Regions from separate parts of the Homo sapiens genome. Here region 1 is linked to region 2. Evidence: promoter capture Hi-C in human tissues and cell types (Jung and others, 2019). All regions are on one chromosome and are shown on one strand. The core of a region is centred on a gene start or on the middle of the fragment in contact, and the rest is flanking DNA. Distances in the headings are between cores, read along the strand shown.

Region 1 (6,732 bases), core at 573-3,072, 45 kb before region 2:
GAACTAATACAGAAAATTGGTACCAGGTGCAGGGTATTGCTATAAAGATTCCTGAAAATATGGAAGCAGCTTTGGAATTGAGTAACAGGAAGGGGTTGGAAGAATTTGGAGGGCTCAGAAGAAGACAGGAAGATAAGGGAAAATTTGAAACTTCCTAGATACTTGTTGAGTAGTTGTGACTCAAATGCTGATAGTGATATTGACAGAGATGGCCAGGCTCATGAAGTCTTAGATGGAGATGAGGAACTTATTGGGAAATGGAGCAAAGGTCACTTTTGTTATGCCTTAGCAAAGAACTTGGCTGCAATATACCCCTGCTCTAGGGATTTGTGGAACTTTGAACTCAAGAGTGATGATTTAGGGTATCTGGTGGAAGACATGTCTAAGCAGCAAAGCATTCAAGATGTGTTGTTGCTGCTTCTAACAGCCTGTGCTCATATGCATAAGCAAATAAATGACTTAAAGTTGGAAGTTATATTTAAAGGGGAAGCAGAGCATAAAAGTTTGAAACATTTGCAGCCTAGCCATGTGGTAGAAAAGAAAAGCGCATTTTCAGGTGAGGAATTCAAGCAGACTGCAGAAATTTGCATAAGTCAAAAGGAGCCAAGTGCTAATAGCCAGGACAATGGAGAAAAGGCCTGGAAGGCATTTCAAAAAACTTTGAGGCACCTTCTCCCATCAACTTCTGGGGAAGCCTCAAGAAACTTACAATCATGGTGGAAGGCAATGATTGTGTTTCCTGAGGACTAGCAGGTTTTGTGGGCCAGGCCCAAGGCCCTGCTACCCTGTGCAGCCTCAGGACACTGCTGCATGCATCCCAGCTGCTCTAGTTCTAGCCATGGTTCAGACGGGCTGTCGTACAGCTTGGGCTGCTGCTTCAGAGGGTGCAAGCTGCAAGCCTTGGCAGATTCCACGTGGTGTTAATCCTGCAAGTGTGCAGGATACAAGAGCTGAGGCTTAGGAGCCTTCACCTAGATTTCAGAGGATGTATGGAAAAGCCTGGGTGTCCAGGTAGAAGCTTGCTGCAGGGACAGAGCCCTTATGGAGCACCCCTATTACAGTAGTGGGGAGGGGAAATGTGGAGTTGGAGCTCCACACCGAGTCCCCACTGGGGCACTGCCTAGTGGAGCTATGAGAAGGGAGCTACCATCCTCCAGACACCAGAATGGTAGATCCACTGACAGCTTGCACCCTGCACTTGAAAAAGCCACAGGCAGTCAATGCCAGCCTGTGAAAGGAGCTGTGAGAACAGCCTTGGAGGCGTAACCCTGCAAAGCCACAGTGGGGGAGCTGCCCAGGGCCTTGAGAATCCACCCCTCACACCAGTGTGCCCTGGATGTAGGACATGGAGTCAAAGGAGATTATTTTGGGGCTTTAAGATTTACTGACTGCCCTCGGGGCTTCAGACTTTGATGGGGCCTGTAGCCCCTTTCTTTAGGCCATTTTCTCCCTGTTGGAATGTCAGTATTAACTCAGTGCCTGTATGCTTATTGTATCTTGGAAGTAACTAACTTGTATTTTATTTTACAGGCTCATAGGTGGAAAGGAGTAGCTTTGTCTCAGATGGGAATTTGGACCTTTGAATTAATGCTGGAATGAGTTAAGACTTTGGAGGACTGTTGAAAAGGAATGATTATATTATGAAATGAGAGAAGGACATGAGATTTGGGAGGGTCCAGGAGTGGAATGACATGGTTTGGATCTGTGTTCTCACCCAAATATCATGCTTAATTGTAACCCTCAATGTTGGAGGATATCAATGTTGGGGTCTGGTAGGAGGTAATTGGATCATGGGGGTGGATTTCTCATAAATGATTTATCACCATTCCACTTGGTACTGTCCTCATGATTGTGAGTGAGTTCTCTTGAAATCTGGTCTTTTAAAAGTGTGTGGCACCGCCCCCCTCCAATACCTTGCTCCTGCTCCCACCATGTGAGATGCCTTGCTTCCCCTTTGCCTTCTGCCATGATTGTAAGCTTCCTGAGGTCTGCCCAGAGGCTGAGCAGATGCCAGCATCATACTTCCTGTACAGTCCACAGAACTGTGAGCCAATTAAACCTCTTCTATTTATAAATTACCCAGGTATTTCTGTATAGCAATGCAAGAACAGACTAATAAATCTGAAGGAAAACCCATTTTCAGAAGAACATAACGGGATCAAGAGTCACTTAAGTGTGTCTTATTTTTAGCCCCAAATTACTAGAAGCATTAGTGTGTTCTTGCATTGCTATGAAAATACTTGAGACTGGATAATTTATAAAGAAAAGAGGTTTAATTGGCTTACAGTTCTGCAGGCCACATATGAAGCATAGTGCTGGCATTTGTTGCTGGTGAGAGCCTCAGGAAGCTTACAATCATGGTGGAAGGTGAAGGGGAGCCAGAATGTCACATGGTGAGAGGAGGAGCAAGAAAGAGAGAAGGGGGAGGTCCCAGACTGTTTTAAACAACCAGATCATTTGTGAACTAACTGATACTTATCAGAAAGGTGATGGTGCTAAACCATTCATGAGGGATCTGACATGATCTAATCACCTCCCACCAGCCCCCATCTGCAACATTGGAAATCACATTTAAACATGAGATTTAGAGGGGCCAAAGGTCCAAACAATATCCTTAGATATGTAAGGAAAGAAAAAGTATGATTCATACTCAGGAAAATGGCAATCTACAGCCTTGACTATGAAGGGAAATGATGTCAGATGGTTTCTCAAATCTACAGAAAGCAATGAAAAGTACTAGTGATGGTGAATATAGACATCTAGTTTGAAGCTATATAGTTGCAATGTTTCTATATTTTTTCTAAAATAAAAATGAATACCATAATCTTTATATTTTCCACTAAAAGGAATGCTGAGATATAGCTCAAAGACAATAAAGAAATTAACAAGGAAAAGTGGAAAATATATTAGGCCAGGTGTGGTGGCTCACACTTGTAATCCTAGCACTTTGGGAAGCCAAGGCAGGTGAATTGCTTGAGCTCAGGTGTTTGAGACTAGCCTGGGAAACATGGTGAAACCCCATCTCTACAAAAAATACAAATAGTAGCCAGGTGTGGTGGTGCACACCTGTAGTCTCAGCTACTTGGGAGGCTGAGCCAGGGGGTAGAGGTTGCAGTGAGCCAAGACTGTGCCACTGCACTTCAGCCTGTGTGACAGAGCCAGACCTGTCTCAAAAAAAAAAAAAAAAAAAGTGGGAAACCTATTTGACAAAAAAGAAAGCAAGAAGCTGGCAAGAGAGAAGCAAAGTCTATGAGATAAATAGAAAACTAATCGCAAAATAGCAGATTTAAGTTTAATCATAATAATTGGATTAAATATAAACGGAATAAGCACTCTAATCAAGGGGCAAGGACCAATTATATGCTGTCTTTAAGTAACACACTTTAACTACAAAGACACAAATAGGTTCATATTCAAAAAATGAGAAAATATCTCATGCACACTCTAATCAAAAGAAGTCTGTAGTGGCTTATCTGGTTGGGGACTGGCTGAGAGCCAGGAAAGGCTTCTGAATGTGAGGAAACAGTGTAAGAGAAACCCCCAGGGATCCACACTCCAAAATGGTCTTTTATGATCTTGGCTATGGGAGAATCTCTTGATTCACTAAGGCCTCAGGACTGACATATGTAGCTGCTTAGAGATTGCACAGAGATATTGCTCCAGAAAGGGAACTCACTACAAAATCCCAAAGGCATCCGAGCCTAGAACAGCTTCAGCTGGACACCATTCTCGACAGCCTAGATATTGGGGATCTACAGACATGGCTGCTGCTCCAAAAAGGGAGAAGGGAGACCAGGCACTCTTATGCACCCCTGGGAGAGTCCCTACCATCCTGCTGTGTGCTCCTGTTGAGAATGAGACATGAGTGAACCATACTCTAAACAGCTTCTTGCCCATACTGCTTCCTTGGGGAAGGGGGCATCCGCTCTGGTCCCAAGCTCAAGATGCCATCTTGAGAGTTTAATGCTGGGCTTCACCTCACCCTTGGGCTGAGCTTGGGCTCACGTGGCTGCAACCACCCCCCAGCCAAAGAACAGCAGGGAAACCAGCTGCTGCTACACTTATCTAGAATGATACCCACTTCCCTACAACCATGCTGCTGTAAGACTGAGATGTAAGTAGACCACACTTCTTACAGATTCTTGCCCACACTGCCAGCCTGTAAAAGGTTCCACCTTCCCAGGTTGCAGACCCTTGGTGCCATTTTGAGAGTTTAACACTGGCCTGTGCTCTGCCCTTGGGCAAAGTAAGCACTGACATGGCTACAGCTTCTGCCCAGCTGAGGAGGGACACGGAAATCACACTCTCCTATGCATACCTAGGACAATACCTAGCACCCTGATAAGGGCTGCTGTGAGACTGTGACTTCAGTGGATGGCAGTCTTCACAGCTTCTTGCCCATGCTGTTCATCTGAGGGAGGCCCTGCTGTCTCTTGTCACAGACCCACAGCCAACACCATTTTGAGAGCTTAACATTGGGCTTTGCCCTGCCTTTAGGCCAAGTTCAAGGCAACATGACTGCAGCTGCCACCCAGCTGAGGCAGAGACAAGGGAGACCAAGCTCTCCTAAGCACACATAGTACAATACCCACTGTCTTTCTACAGATATTTGTGGGACTGAGGACTAGTCTTCCCAACCCATCACAGCTTCCAGACCACCAATATAGACCACTTGGGTTTCAGTGCTCCATCACTGCTACTGCTATCACCCGCATTACACCAGCTGCCCAGGGGCCTGAGAACCTGAACACGCACAAGCCCTTAACTCCCATTACTAGAACACTTTTAAGCAAGCCATCTGGAGGCCCAAGAATCAGCCCTCTGGGACACACTAACACCAATGCCAAAGTAAACTTCTCTGGGGCCTAAAAACAGGCACACTCAGCCTGCTGCTGCCACCACTGGGGCTTGAAGACTGGCTCAGCTGGTGTCCAAATCCTCAGCTAAACTTAACCACAGCCTTAACTAATAACTATACTTAAGCCACTGAGGATATCACAGATACCACTGACGCTGTGTGCTGCTGAATAAGACATACAAAGGTCACACTACCACAGGCACTCCAAATTAAAGCCAAAGTGTCCTACTATATATATACATCTTCAGAAAAAAATTGTCCCCTAAAAAAGCATTTCAAAAAATTGGAACAAGCTATATCAGATGCTCAGATGTTAATAGAAGGACACAGGATTCACAAAAGGTAAGGAAATATGACACACCAAAGGACCACAACAATTATCCGGCAACATATTCCAACCAAAAATAATTGCTCAATATTCCAGATAAAGAATTCAAAATATTGATTCTGAAGAAGTGCAATGAGATGCAAGAGAAATCTGCATCAAACAAATAAATCAGAAAGGCATTCAAGAAATGAATGAGAAATTTACCAAGGAGATAGATACCTTAAAAAAAAAAAGCATAAGTTCTGGAATTGAAAAGCTCATTGAAAGAAATAAAAAAAATATTTGAAAGCTTCAATAATAGACTAGATCTAACAGAAGAAACAATCTCAGAATTTGAATACAGGTCTTTTGAAATAATCCAGCCAGACAAAAATAAGGAAAAAAGAATAAAAAATAATGAACAAAGCAGATGTTTGGGACTATATAAAGCAAACAAACTTAAAAATTATTGGTGTTCCCAAGGAGGAAAAGAGATCAGAGTTTAGAAACCCTGTTTAAGGAGGTAATCTATGAAAACTTCCCAAGTCTAGCAAGAAAGTTAGACACCCAGGTATAGGAGGCCTAGCAATCTCCATGAAAATACATTGCAAAAAGGATTTCACCATGGCATATTATATTCAGAATGTCTAAAGTCAAGGTAGAAGAAAGAATTTTAAAATTAGCAAGAGAAAAGCATCTAGTCACCTGTAAAGGAAACCTTATTGAACTAACAGCAGACTTTTCAGCAGATACCTTACACAGGAGAAGAGAATGATATGGTATATTCAAAGTACTGAAAGGAAAAAATTGTCAGTCTAGATTTTTATTTTCTGCCAGAATAAGCTTCATAAATGAAGGAGAAATAAAGTTTTTCCCAGAGAAGCAAACACTGAGGGAAATTGTCACCACTATACCAGCCCTAAAGGAAATGCTCAAAGGGGTCTTAAACATGGAAACAGAAGGTTGATATTCACCATCACAGAAACAAATGAAAATATAAAACTCATAGGTCTTATAAAACAATCACACAAAGGAGGAAGAGAAAAGGATCAAATGGCAACATGACAGAATTTCATCAAACCACAAAGAGAAAAACACAGAGAAAAAAAAAAGAAAGAAATAATTTATAAAACAACTTGAAAACAATTAACAGTGACAGGAATAAAGCTTTACATATCAATATCAACCTTGAATGTAAATGGACTAAATGCTCCACTTAAAAGATATAGATTGGGCCGGGCGCGGTGGCTCACGCCTGTAATCCCAGCACTTTGGGAGGCCGAGGCGGGCGGATCACGAGGTCAGGAGATCGAGACCATCCCGGCTAAAACAGTGAAACCCCGTCTCTACTAAAAATACAAAAAATTAGCCGGGCGTAGTGGCGGGCGCCTGTAGTCTCAGCTACTTGGGAGGCTGAGGCAGGAGAATGGCATGAACCCGGGAGGCGGAGCTTGCAGTGAGCCGAGATCCCGCCACTGCACTCCAGCCTGGGCGACAGAGCGAGACTCCGTCTCAAAAAAAAAAAAAAAAAAAAGATATAGATTGGCAGAATGCATTAAAAACATGA
Region 2 (7,173 bases), core at 2,515-5,014:
CCGGCCAGGAAGGAAGAAGGTTGACTGAGCTCAGGGCTGGGCCCAGGGCAGGGAAGAGGGACCTAGGTGCAGAGGAGCATCTCAACCTCCTAAGCTGCAGGCAGACCTGGCTGTGGGAGAAGCCTGCCCCCATTGGAGGGACAGGCCCTGAAAATAGGAAACTGAGTACTCATGGCATGGCCCCTGGCCTTCTGAGTCCCTGGAGTTATTTCCTTTCCACTGCCCTGCTCCATTCTCTGCTACGTTGTTAGGGGAGTAGGTAGTTGGTTTAGAGACGATAAGAAATTCCTAACGTCCAGAGAGGTTTATTTTTTTTTGTGAAGGGAGAGGGGTGAAGATTGTTTGTTTATAATGGAGTTCAAACCAGCTCTAACAGAGGGTTCAGTATCAAAGACATGTGATTGAGAAATTAGTGAAAAAACTGTACAGCATGGGGTTTAGGGAGGAGGGAGGGCTGGGGGAGAAAGGAAGAAGCAAAAGCCAGAACTGACAGCAGACGGCTGCCTGGAGCAGTGTTGTTGCATATTGAAGATGGTTCAGTGAATAAATAAGACTTCAGTCATATTTACACCAGAGATCCATTTATTACAGTCCTGCAACCCCGACTGCCCACCCCTTGGGGATTCTTGCCTCTGTCCCAGAGATGGTCAGGCCCAGAGGAAGGTTAGTCTCATGCCTGCTGTTAGAGGCGCTTCATTGTTCTCTTTATCCAGGGCAGGAAGTGTGAGACCTTGATGTAGACTCCTGGAGGTGTCCCTTTTTTGTTTCCATAGGAGAGAATACCTTGGGCTACGTCCTTACACACGAGGGGCCCCCCGGAGTCCCCCTGTGAACAGAGAGAGGAAAGACTGAGCTAGTGTTCCCTGGGATGGGTGGTCTCTGTTATGGATTTTGTGTGACATCAGTGCCAGGCAGGCCTTGTCACTCACCTCCCTCAGTCCTGGGTCTCCAGCATGGCCCTGGCTGTGCTTTCTGGCTCTCCCCAGACCAAGCCTTTCTCTGCAATTCTCACGGACACTTTGGTGATAAGTGACTGTCGGATGACAGATCCTTCCCCTCCAGCCACCCCAGTCCACCCAAGGAGTGGACTAAAGACTAGATTCCAGGGGGACACAGGCTGCCCAAGCTCTGGGCTGAGAGCATAAAGATCTGGCCACTGTCATACCCCAGAACTCCCTCAAGTTCCTCTCTCCCTGTGGTCTTTCTGGGTAGAGGCTGGAAACCCAACCTTGAAACCGGTCTGTGTCTTCTTTGGATCCCCCACACAAATCTCAGTGGCTCTGCTGTAATTGCCATGGAAGAGACGTTCACACTGGCAGTCCTTCTGCACTGTCAGCAACACTTCCTGCAGTGTGGTTGCTAAAGTGCTCATTGAGACATAACCCCAGCCAGCCACACTGCACAGCTGCCCTGGCTTCACCTGGGCCTTGCTGCTAGGTAGCCTGAGAGGCCGCACAGCTGTGGTCCACTTGGCCTTTCTCTCCAGCTGGTGGGGAAGAAGCAAGAAAGTCCAGGTCAGGCAATGGCCTTCTGGGCCCCGACACAGTGATGGGGCTGCACAATCTTCCCTCTCCTCTAAGGCACAGGAACTGACCAAGAGGTCAGGATGGAAAGGAGGAAAGGGCCGGCATCCCAGTGGGAGTGGAACCAACTGGACCAAGAAGAGCAAGAGTGGCAGGAGTGTGCCTCACCTGCAGTAGCATGATGTCGTTGGAGAAGTTCTTAGGATTATAGGCTGGATGGGGGATGGGTCTTTTCACAGGGATAAACTGCTGGGTCCGCTCCTGTTCCTTGATATTGTGGGCCCCCAAGGTGACATTTATGGAGCTGCACAGAGAGCAGAGTGAGGATGGGGGTGGAGTCACAGGGGATAGAGCCCAGGAGCAGTGAAGAGCAGATGACAGCTGTGGCAGGGTAGGGCTGCAGCTGAGGGGAAGTTGAAGGGACAGGAGGGCTCCAGGGCTGAGTGACTGTGCCCTCTACTTCACAAAGACATGAAGAGTAGGGCTTCTGGGGGCTCTCTCTTGCCTTCAGGAAATATCATGAAATTGCTCGAGTTTGCATTTTGATCCTTAATGCATGGATTCAACCTTTACTACTGCCTTATTGGGCCAGTGTGTGAAACCATGCCACTTGCTCTGACCTCTGACCCTCTGACCCTCTGACCCTGTCCTATTTCTCAGCCTTTCATCATCTTAGTCCTATTCCCAGGTGGCTGCTCCGATGAGCTTTCATGGGCTTGTGTTACCAGGAACTCTGGAAGCTCCCCTGGGCTGCAGTCCCCAGGAGAAAACAAGGGTCCCTGTAGGGGGAACTCAGGAGGTGAGCTGGTGCTGCTCCTTACCTTCCCTGGCAGTGAGCAGCTGTCAGCACAAAGTCCTTTCTCACTAGGATGCCGCCACACCTCTTCCGACTCTTCTCTTGCAGAAACTGAACAAAGGCCATGTAGGGGCGGGAGTGGGGCTTGGCCTCATGGCCCCCGATGATCTCCTCTGAAAGGAAAGACTGGAAGATAAAGTAGCTGGGGATGGCTGCAGTCAGGAGAGAAGGCTTAGGACGACAGTGATTGAGGGTGAAGTGTTTTGTGTGCTGCAGACAGTGAGGGAGGGGTCCTCCTGAGCTCTGCAGGCAGTACTCCTTGCAGGCAGAGCAAGCTTTTCTGAACTTTAAGTCTCAGAACCTTCTCTCAGAAAGAATGGACAGTGCTTGACTTCTGCATCCTACTGCAGAAACACACATGGAGGAAGAAAGATCTATTTTCACAGTGGTAGAGCCCCAGAGGATCCTGGACAGGACTTCCCAGGCTCCTCCTTTTTAGTGAGTCTCTCTGATTCCTCTGAGCCTCTGCTGTCCTCCTGATTGGTGCCATTTTCTAATGATCTACCCATGAGCTTCTGGAGTTGGATTTTCTAAAATTCTCATGTGCCAGGGCTGAACACATTCTAGGTTCTCAGTAAGTGTTGTTTGGTGCATAAATGAATAGCCTCCAATTAGCCTTTGGCTGAGGTTTAGTGGGGGTAGTGCTGGTGGGATTCAGGACCTCAGGGATGTTAGAGGGGGTTATCACCAGGTCAGTGGAGTAGCTGAGGGCCTGCAAAGGCAGAAGGAAGTGGAGAAATCAACTAAAAATGAATCGCAAAGCCCAGGTGGAGCCAAGGTAATGGGAGAGCTATGGACACAGTCATCTTGCCATCTCTGAGATCAGTTGCACCATGGGCTTCCCTCCTGGCAGGGGTGACTGGGTGGGGGCACTGAATAAGTGGTTCTTAAGCTGAGTCCAGTAACAACTCCTATGACTGCAACTTGGTGTCTGAGCTCCTCTTTCCTGGGTTGGAGTGTAGAGTAATAATTACTTATCTTTTTTAGCTTCACATTCCCTACCAAATGCCTTTCTAAGAACAATCCACACTCCAGGTCATAAAGGAGAGGTCTAGGGAGAGGCTAACACCCATTAAACCTTTTAGGGAACACCCTTCATTTTTCGATCTTTGCTGAGTGTCTATCTAGCCTCAGATTTATAAGTCTGGGTGTGGAATGGGAGGTGGGCTCAGATTGAGGAAAATTCCTGACCAGTGCTCATGGGTACAGGGTATCTTATAAGATGGGTTCAGGCCTCTGGAATAGGGATAGTCACTTACCTGTCCCAGCCCCAGGGGTCAGAAGAAAGGCCAACAGGAGGAGGAATGGCTGCATTTTCTCAGGAAGGCTGCCCAGGTCAGAGCTGTTGGTGTTGACTCCTTCCAGAAACAAATGCTGGAGGGAGATGAAGGAGGGATGGGTACAGTAAACTCAGAGACCTCCTAGACTTGTCCCCTTCTGGTTTTGATGGGTGTCATTATAGAAGGTGGTTTATTAAAATTATCTGGTTTGGTTTAAGTTGACATGGCACTGTCACATTTACACCCCTGCTGCTGAGTAACAAGGTGAAAGCAAGAATAAAGAACAAGGAGGTGGAGCTGTTGAAGCTGTGGCTGCAGCTAGCAGAAAGGCTGGTACTGCAGAAGCTCCTCAGTGACTGAGAACCAAGAATGTCTCCTTTTCTCAGTTCTTGGCTCTTTTTCTACTCAGATAAAATCATGAATAATTATTTAGCAAGCCAGATCCAGGGATATGAGAGACATGGCTCTTGCCCTTGAAGAATTGATGGTTAGCAAGAGTAGACTGAAAATCTGGGGTTAGAGCACAAGATGGTAAGGGCCGTGGTGGGGAAATCTGCCTGTTGGTGTGAGACGGAGGCTGGACTTGCCTTAGCAGTATGCAGAGTTGCACACACCCAACAAATACTGCAAATGGCAACCCATTCCTATCTTACCACTATCTCAGATTCATATTTTTGGGATATTTAGAATCCCCTCTTTAAATATAAATATTCTGTGACAAAGATAACTTTTTTTATTCCACAGTTCTGCACAAAAGTTCTGGACTTGATATTTATTGAACCAAAATGAGTCATCATTGGGTCCACTGAAGTGTAGTGGACTGATTGCTTTATGCTTTGGTTATTTAGCCCTCCTTAAGCTGAGGTGGGGACTGTTCCACTCCATCTATGGTGCTTATGAATGAGGAGGGGATTTCCCTTGAGAAATGCTAGTTGTTGTTGCCAGGTGATGGAAAAATGGATGCTGATCATCCTGATAATAATTGTTCACTAAGGCCGGGCGCGGTGGCTCATGCCTGTAATCCTAGCACTTTGGGAGGCCAAGACGGGTGGATCACGAGGTCAGGAGATCGAGACCATCCTGGTTAACATGGTGAAACCCCATCTCTACTAAAAATACAAAAAATTAGCCGGGCGTGGTGGCGGGCTCCTGTAGTTCCAGCTACTTGGGAGGCGGAGGCAGGAGAATGGCGTCAACCCAGGTGGAGCTTGCAGTGAGCTGAGATCGCGCCACTGCACTCCAGCCTGGGTGACAGAGCGAGACTCCATCTCAAAAACAAACAAACAAACAAACAAAAAACTGTCCACTAAGTATTCTCTCAGTTTCCAGAGAGCCATGTCTCTGATGTCCCTTGGCTCACAGTCATAGGCTGTCCATAAACAAAAATGTGTATATATACATATGTTTGTATATTTATGTATATGAATATATATAAATATATATGTATAGTTAAGTAGGAACATGTAAATGATAAAATTAAACTTACCAAAAATTCTACCACCGGAGATCATTATTAATGCTTAAGCATGTTTCCTTCTACTATTTTTCTAGGTATTTATAAGGTGCTATTCCTGCTATTACTTTAACAGAACTGGGATAGGACTTTAGGTGATAGACTTTTTTGTGATGAATTTTCCAGGTGTTCTTTGAGCTTCTTGTATTTGGATGTCTAGGTATCTAGCAAGGACAGGGGAGTTTTCTTCAATTATTTCCTCAAATAAGGTTTTCAAGCTTTTAGATTTCTCTTCTTCCTCAGGAACACCAATTATTCTTAGGTTTGACTGTTTAACATAATCCCACATTTCTTGGAGGCTTTGTTCATTTTTTAAAAATTATTTTTTCTTAGTCTTTGTTTGATTGGGTTAATTTGAAAGCATTGTCTTTGCGCTCTGAAGTTTTTTCTTCCGCTTGTTCTAGTCTAGTGTTGAAACTTTCCAGTGGATTTTGTATTTCTCTAAGCATGGCTTTCATTTCCAGAAGTTGTGATTATTTTTTCTTTATGATATCTATTTCTCTGGGGAATTTTTCACCCATATCCTATATTTATGTATATATATATTTTTTAATTTTTAAAGTTGTTTTTTCACCTTTCTCTGGTATCTCCTTGAGTAGCTTAATGATCTTCTGGATTGTTTATCTGGCAATTCAGAGATTTCTTCTTGGTTTGGATCCATTGCTGGGGAGCTAGTGTGATCTTTTGGAGGTGATATAGAACTCTGTTTTATCATATTACCAGAATTACCTTTCTAGTTCCTTATCATTTGGGTAGACTATTTCAGTGGAAAGGTCTGGAACTCAAGTCCTGCTGTTCAGATTCTATTATCCCATGGGGTGATCCTTTGATGTGGTGCTCTCCCCCTTCCCCTAGGGATGGGACTTTCTGACCACTGGACTGCATTGGCTGTTACTGCTTTTCTGGGTCTAGCCTCCCAGTGGCGCTACCAGGTTCCAGCTGGTGCTGGGGAATGTCTGCAAAGAGTCCTGTGATGTGATCTCTCTTCAGGTCTCCCAGCCATGGATACCATTACCTGCTCTGGTGGAGGTGGAAGGGGAGTGAAGTAGACTCTGTGAGAGTCCTTGGTTGTAGATATGTGTAGTGTGCTGGGTTTCTTGAATGCTGGTTATGCTAGCAGTGAAGTTTTCATGTGGACACACTCAGGACCTCTGTTTAGCCAGGATGTTGCAGGCATTGGAATTAGGTGTTATCTTCTCCTTCCTGGGTTCAGGGTTATTCTGTCATGAGTTGCTGTAATGGCCTGTGTTGTTTGGCCTCCAGCCAAGAAGTGGTGCTTTCAAGAGAGCACCAGCTGCATTGGTAGTAGAGGGATCTAGGTTTGCCCTAAGTTGGCCAGGGTGAGTATTTTGGTTTCTCAGATGATGGGTGGGGCCTGAAAGCTCCCAAGAGTTTCTATCTTTTGTGTTTGGTTACCAGGGTGAGTAAAGAAATACCATCATGTTGGGGCAGGGTTAGGTGGGTCTGGGCTCAGAGTCTCCTTGGGTGGGGTTTGCTGTGGCCACTGTGCGGGATGTGGGGGTGGTTCTTAGGCCAATGGGGTTATTTTCCAGAGGGGATCTTGGCTACCTCTGTTGTGTCATATAATTCACCAGGGAAGTGGCGGAAAGCTGGTAGCGAGAGGTCTCACCCAGCTCCCACACAGTTGGCAAGGCCAGTCTCACTCCCAAAGTGCCCCACTCAGATCTTGCCCAAGGCTGTGAACTTTCCCACTGAGAAAGCAAGCATGGATTTCAGATATCACCCCTCCCCATCTGCCCACTCCAACGGGAGTGGCTTCTTTGCTTCTGAGTTCATGTGCTCATATTGCCAAAGCTCCCACTCGTCCCCTAGACTCCACTAAAGAAAGTTTGTGTCCAATTGAAACCACTACCAATTTCAGTTGGAAGCTTCCTTCACCTGGTGACCCCTCCCCAATTCCACTGGCTGCCTTCCCTGAGAGATCCTGTGAGATATAGTCAGGAATGGCTTCCCTGGGCTCAAGCTGAAGATTGGAAGTGC

Evidence for each region. The method cuts DNA at HindIII sites, captures the fragments that hold promoters and counts their contacts. A contact is called where the count stands out against the background at its distance.
Region 1: a contact is called between a fragment that was not itself captured here and the fragment with the promoter of GZMH in region 2, in 1 of the 25 tissues and cell types used here (small bowel).

Annotation. Positions count from the first base shown.
Region 1 is chr14:24,562,448-24,569,179 of GRCh38, forward strand. No RefSeq gene overlaps it. Among named protein-coding and RNA genes, the nearest start is that of CTSG, 10 kb to the right of the region's middle. The HindIII fragment of the contact is 4,178 bases long and covers 1-3,911 here.
Region 2 is chr14:24,605,921-24,613,093 of GRCh38, forward strand. GZMH (granzyme H) reads right to left here and starts at 3,765. Exons shown (of 5, transcript NM_033423.5): 1 at 3,639-3,765; 2 at 2,345-2,492; 3 at 1,692-1,827; 4 at 1,229-1,486; 5 at 560-826. The coding sequence starts at 3,693. The coding sequence ends at 683. RefSeq lists an enhancer at 1-346. The HindIII fragment of the contact is 6,565 bases long and covers 1-6,225 here.